Regions from separate parts of the Homo sapiens genome. Here region 2 is linked to region 1. Evidence: promoter capture Hi-C in 16 types of primary human blood cells and fetal thymus (Javierre and others, 2016). All regions are on one chromosome and are shown on one strand. The core of a region is centred on a gene start or on the middle of the fragment in contact, and the rest is flanking DNA. Distances in the headings are between cores, read along the strand shown.

What was found. The method cuts DNA at HindIII sites, captures the fragments that hold promoters and counts their contacts. A CHiCAGO score of 5 or more calls a contact.
Region 2: a fragment that was not itself captured here is called in contact with the fragment with the promoter of SPATA46 in region 1 in 1 of 17 cell types (M0 macrophages); the score reaches 5.4 in M0 macrophages.

Annotation. Positions count from the first base shown.
Region 1 is chr1:162,374,972-162,378,339 of GRCh38, reverse strand. SPATA46 (spermatogenesis associated 46) reads left to right here and starts at 1,486. Exons shown (of 3, transcript NM_182581.4): 1 at 1,486-1,652; 2 at 2,937-3,050. The coding sequence starts at 1,550. The HindIII fragment of the contact is 3,530 bases long and covers 1-1,702 here.
Region 2 is chr1:161,858,910-161,862,277 of GRCh38, reverse strand. It overlaps ATF6 (activating transcription factor 6), which reads right to left. Exons shown (of 16, transcript NM_007348.4): 13 at 2,001-2,071. Among named protein-coding and RNA genes, the nearest start is that of ATF6, 94 kb to the right of the region's middle. The HindIII fragment of the contact is 4,155 bases long and covers 1-3,368 here.

The DNA.
Region 1 (3,368 bases), core at 237-2,736:
TAATGTTCCAAACCAGGCTATCTGGGAGGAACACGAGGGGAATCATGTTCTCCCATTGTCCTTCGAATGTTTCAGTACCGTGAATAAATACACACAGGAAGACAACTCTGGGCTCTCACGTGCAGAAGCTAACTCACACCTCACTCACACATGCTCGACAGCACTGCAAAACAAGCCCATCACTATTTCCAGAGCGGCCATAGCTCCCCATGCAGCATAAACATACCTGCCATCTAGATCTGCAGCCCTGCTCTGTATCTAGTTGACATGTTGTGATAATCTAGAAAGGGGTGTCTTCAGCTTATCTTCCAAGTGTCACAATCATCTTTCACCTTATTCCACACCTCGTTAGTGCACAAGGTTGTTATAGGACAAGCGAAACGAAGAGGCAACCTTGCCTCTCTGGAGTCCCAGAGTCTCCCCATCAAACTGACTTAAGCAATGAGCAAAATAGTATTGAGTAAGCCACCCATTTGTGCTTTAGTCACTTGCTAAAAAGAGCACCAACCACTGAAAACAATATTTGGCCCCTATTCTTAGGAAATACACATTGAAGTACTTAGGTATAAAAGGACATAGTGTTTATAACTTACCTTCAAATAGTTCACAGAAAAAATTAAGTATATACACATACACATGGGGCAGGGGGCAGGAGGAAGGGGACGGATACAGCAAATGGGGTAAAATGTTAATAGGAAAATCTGGATACAGGGCATAAGGGTGTTCTTTGTATTGATTTTATTTTTTGCAGCTTTTAAGATGGAGTCTCGCTCTGTCACCCAGGCTGCAGTGCAGTGGCGCTATCTCAGCTCACTGCAGCCTCTGTCTCCCAGGTTCAAGCGACTCTCCTGCTTCAGCCTCCCAAGTAGCTGGGATTACAGGCACCCACCACCACGCATGGCTAAATTTTATATTTTGAATAGAGATGGGGTTTCACCATGTTTGTCTAGCTGGTCTTGAACTCCTGACCTCAAATGATCCACCCGCCTTGGCCTCCCAAAGTGCTGGGATTATAGGCCTGAGCCACTGCACCCAGCCTAATTTCTGCAACTTTTACAAATTTGAATTTCCAAAGAAAATGTGAAAAATATATACACCTCAAAAAACAAACTAAAACAAAACAATAAAAATATTTGCTGACAGAGATTAGGCTGATAAAGGAGAAGAAAAGGAAGGAGATTATTCAGACAGGACAGAGGTTTCCAGGGCTGGAGGGCTGGGGGTAGACAGTGTCAACACAGAAAACTGATGATAACAAAGATAAAAGGGGACAAATAGACAGCATCACTACAGTATCTCTACTACATTCTTCTCTCTGGGTATTGTCAATCAGGGCCTGCCACTGGGCAATGGCAAGTCAAATACAATCTTTACACATTTTAATCTTGCTTTCAGTAGACTCCATTCATCTTCCAAAGGGTAACCTAGTTGGTAGTGGAATCATGTGCCTTGTGACATCAACTGTGCTCAGAATGTTTATCCTCTGGACAAACCAGCCAGCCTCTCCAGAGCAGGCGTGTGATCTCTGTACCCCCGCAGTGGTCAGAATATGGAGAACTTCTCACTCCTCAGCATCTCTGGACCTCCAATCTCTTCCTCCGCCCTGAGTGCTTTTCCCGACATTATGTTCTCTCGTGCCACCAGCCTGCCAGGTAAACTTTGGTGCCACTAGGGCCACAAAGATGTGGTTTTTTTTGAAGCTTTTAATTGAGTACCCTACCAGATCATGTTACAGGACCATGATTTAGTGAGAAAGTCAAATTACGCATGGGGAGAAAATAATTTTTCAAAATGCTGCATTTGTGGTAAGTAGTTACTGCTGTGTATTGATTTTTGGTAAGGGAAGAAAGGGGAAAACTTTTTTTTTTTTTTTGAGACAGAGTTTCACTCCTGTCGCTCAGGCTGGAGTGCAATGATGTGATCTCGGCTCACTGCAACCTCTGCCTCCTGGGTTCAAGTGATTCTCCTGCCTCAGTCTCCATTTATCATCAAGTTTTTCCCCCTAGATTGTGCATGAAATCTCAAGGTGGCAGTATGTCTACATAGAGTAGAAACTAGTTTTAGCTCTGTTTTGACAAGTTTGGAGAGGATTTGGAGTTAGCCAAATCAGAGAAGCCTAAGCAGCAGCGTAAACTGATGAGCACATCATGGAATAAAGTTGGACACCCTGAGGACTCCCTGTTCAAAATACGGTCCTTAGACTTGCAACGTCTGCATCGTCTGGGAGCTTGTTAGAAATGCAGAATCTCAGGTTCCCACCCCAGATCCACTGAATCAGCATCTGTGTTATTAACAAGATCCCTAGGGGATCTCTATGCACAGTAAAATGGAGAAGTACTGCTCAGTGGAGTAGGCCTCCTAAGCATCCATTTGTCTACATATATGACATTTATAAATTTGTCCCCCAAACTGAACACAGCTGCTATTCTGGGATTTGAGGCAGGTCAGCTTTTTGTCCAAGTGTTAGCACTCCAGGGTGTGCCGTGCAGTGATGGCCCACGGGAACCCTGACTGTGGGTATGAGATGTTTCAACTGGACAATCCTCAAAGCGGGCATGGAACATTGCTCTGCAGCCTGTGACTCTGGGTCCCAGGATGCTCAGGAGACTGGCAATGCGGAGTGAAGCCATCCGCGTGATGAGATGCAGGAGGGTTAGGTGAGGGGCAGGCCAGGCGGAGAGGTGTCATCTGGGCTACATCATAAATCCCACTTTCCAGAGGATCTTTCTGAGGCCTGAATGAAATGGCCCCATTCAGAATTCCCCAGGATGTCATCCAGAATAGCTCTGCCTGGCTGAGTTTGAGAGGTCACTGTTCTGTTTCAGCGTTGAGATGCCTTGAAGTACAGAGGTTGAGCCCCTAGGTATGCCTGGGGGAGTCCCAGAAAGTGGAATCCCAACCTTGCTCAGCTCACCAGTGTTTCTTCTATAACCCAGACATTGCAAAGACAGCAGTACCCACTGAGGCATCCAGCCCAGCTCAGGCCCTGCCACCCCAGTACCAAAGCATCATTGTCAGGCAAGGGATACAGAACACAGCGCTCTCACCAGGTGAGGACTTCTCTGACTCTGGGCGGGAATGTGTGAGAGGCTAAGGATGAAAAGGGGCTGCTTCCCTAAGGAAGCAGAGGTGTCTGGAAGCTGGACCCCCATGCGCGGTCTTGTCACCTGCAGCCTCCTATCTGGCCCTTCTTCCTTTGGTAGACACCCACAGGCCTGGGGCTCTCGCCTTGCCTCCCCTCTCCTGTCTCTGAAACTGGTGTGCAAGAGCAGTTTCTGGCTGAGTGGGCCGTGGAGGGATCAAGATGAGCAGTGAGGCTGAAAAAAGGGTCACAGCCATGGGTGGCGAAAAGAGGGACTGTGGGAGGC
Region 2 (3,368 bases), core at 345-2,844, 520 kb after region 1:
TGAGTCATAAGAATTTCCTTTGAAATAACTCCATTTGTTCACTAGGCCATTTCTGATTACAATATTTTGAATATATAGTCGCTTCTTGCTATTTTGTGATAGTTATGTTCTAAAAAGTCACTGCCAGCAATGAATTAGTGAATCCTAAACCATCCTCCTGGGGGAAATACAGGGTTAGGTTCCTGCAAGCCTCTGGTTACAATATTTCTGTTAAGTGATAAATATATAACCTTATTTATGTGTTTCTGTTTAGAGATACCTTCTTTAACATATATTATTCATTCACTAACTTGAACTCACAGCCAACTGCACTATAAATCATGCCTGAATGAAACTTATCTAACATACGTAGTTTCTCCACACAGCACATCACAGCCCGCTTCGGCTTAGCAACACTAGACAGCAATTCAGCAATATGCCTCGGGGCCATTTCAAACAGCAAAATTACCAACAAAAAGCACAAAAATATGAAAAATGTGGACTGTGAAAAGGACCTTGTTTATATAGCTGAGACTAAAAGGCAGAACACTGCCTTGTTCAACCTCACCAGGGAGCATCTACGCATGTTTGCAAATGATGACAAAAGCACTGCTAATATTAGGGGTTACAAATACATTTTAGCAGATTTTAGTAGGTGAATTAGCAAATATGGAATCCACAAATAATGAAAATTGGCTGTAATTCACTAAAACATTTTAACTAATGAAGAAATACCATGCCATTATAACCATGCATCCAAAAATTGATATATTTTTAAAATAAATGTAATTGAATGATATATTCTGGTTAGCAGAGAATGATTAGTTATTATTTAAACATATTTGAATTATCAATTTCAACAGGATAATACAATCTCAGGATTTTAAACATTCATGATTGCTGATATGCTGCTCATTGTCATTTAATAGGAATTCTCAGTTATTAGTATAATGAATAAAATAGCTTTTGACTTCATTTTTACTATCTATCTATCTATCTATATTTTTTTCTCAGTGCCTAGAACACTGGCACACAGTATATTCTAAGTAAATGTTAAATTCATATAAGTGAACTGCAAATGTGTGGTAGAGCTACAGATAGAAGCTGAGATCCTCAAATTTCACTTCAGTGATACTGTTGTCAATGACATCACATCATTATCATTTACCATTTTGGGGGGCACTTATGTACCATGCTAAGTGCTCTAAATATATTATCTAATTTAACCATTATATCAACTCTGTGCAGCCAGCATTTTGTAGATGAGAAAACTTCAATTGCATGTAATCTGCTTGAGCCCACAAAGTAAGAGGTAGAGTTATAATTTGAACTCTGCCCAACAGGGCAAATAAAGCTAGCATCTTAACCATGACACCATATTGCTTCCCATATTATATTTCCCTTTGAAGACATTTAAACCTGTAGATACAGCATTCTCTTTGAAATCTTTCAAAATCTTAAGTATTATTGTGTAGTGAAAAATGCATTGTAAGTAAAACAGCTATGATCTGAATTCTGAGTCTACCACTAGGTCTTATGACTCTGAAAATTACAAAAAAAATAAATGATTTGACCAGTTTTTCTATATATAAAATAAACTTTTAGTTATTACATGGATTTAAAGATAAAATACATGTAAAACACTCAGCAGGACACCTGGTACAGAGCACTCAAAAAATAACATTCCCTTCCCTAGGTTCATGAAACAGATGCAAATCAAGGGCAAGAAAGCTATGGGTATTCAAGATTTTCATCAAAATTATGATGGAACAGCATTCTGACTAAATTTGTATTTAAGGGATTTGGGAGAGTTGAACTTTTGAAATTATCTGGCTTTATTCCAACTGCTCAGTAGTATGTTATATATATATATACATATATATATATATCTTAGAGTATATGACTAATATAAAACTCATAGATGAGAACAAATTTAAGGTGAAAGGGAAGTGTGAATTTCAACTTTCTTAAAATACCAGCTATTTTAAATTCCTTGGCCAAGAGCTTCTGCACTGTCTTACCTGATACTACTAGTGGTTTCTGTGTATTGAACAGCCATCAGCTGAGAATTTGAGCCCTGTTCCAGAGCACCCTGGAATATTAAAAAAAAAAAAAGTTTAATACTGTATCACAAAATTATATGAAATCTTCCTATACTGGTTCATTCTATACTTAAATTTGTTAAACTTCCATTGCTAAGATTTCTGACATATTCAGTTCAAATAATTAAACACTGACAGATATTAGAACTCTTTAGGTCCATTCTAGTCTGGGAGAAGTGTCTTATGGAGATTAAGGCATTTAAGGCACTTTCCATTAAGTTTAAAGAAAGAGCCCAAAAGCTAGTCCAAGCACCACAAATTTTATGACCAAGCTATATAAGTGTTACTGAACATATAACAATGTCTGCTTGTCTAAAATAATTATCTTCCCAATGACAAGTTCCTAAGAAGTATGAAAAGTCCATAATGAAACTAGATCCTATTGTTTACTGAGTTAAACACAGAGATCTTCATGCCAAAATACATCTATGAACTAAGCCATCATTAAAGAGTTCTTATTGATGACTCTTGGCAAGAGAACAGTTCAATCTACACCCATTAGTGGCCCACATATGCTACACTGGAAACCTGTCTTTCACACAGCATTTGCTTTGCACTATGCCTTTTTATTCTCCCTGGTAGTTATGTAAGCTGATTTTCAGAAGCGGTTTGTCAGGGTATCAGACTTCAAGGGCATATTACCAAGTTCTATTTCATTAGAAAGTAATCTTACCCTGTCAAACAATGGTTTAAATAATTTTTTAATCATTTGTTCATTACTGTGTCCATATATCCATCTTTCAGTAATCAAAGCACCTACATGTGCCCAAGCTACAAAATTAAATATTTGACTTCTGCCTTTAAGAAGCTCGCAGTTTAACTGGGAAGACAGATATAGGAAAACAATACAATGCGATAAGCGCTAAAACAGAAGCATGTACAGAAGTTTAAGGGAGAAAAGAAAAGGAAACAATTTTGTTTGGTGGATGGAACCAATATGCAGAGATGAATATAGGGGTTCCCACTTCTGGCTCTGTAACAAGTCAAGGATCTCATTTTATAAAAATCTAATGTGGGTCTTGTATATTGTAGGTGTTCAATAAATGCTCTGTTTAACAACAAATGAAAAAAATCACCAATAAAATGAAAAGAAGAACACAGTTAAATAATAAAATACTATACTTACTGGCATAGTTATCCAGTAAGTAGTAAATAAAACCAAAACTAAATTATAGCTAGTTGATAAATATAAGGTTGAAAATGAACAGATTAACTGGTGAATTTTAAATGATTAGTGCTACTTTGGCCCATATGAAATGAGCAAAGAAGTTTGAAAGAAGCCAGACT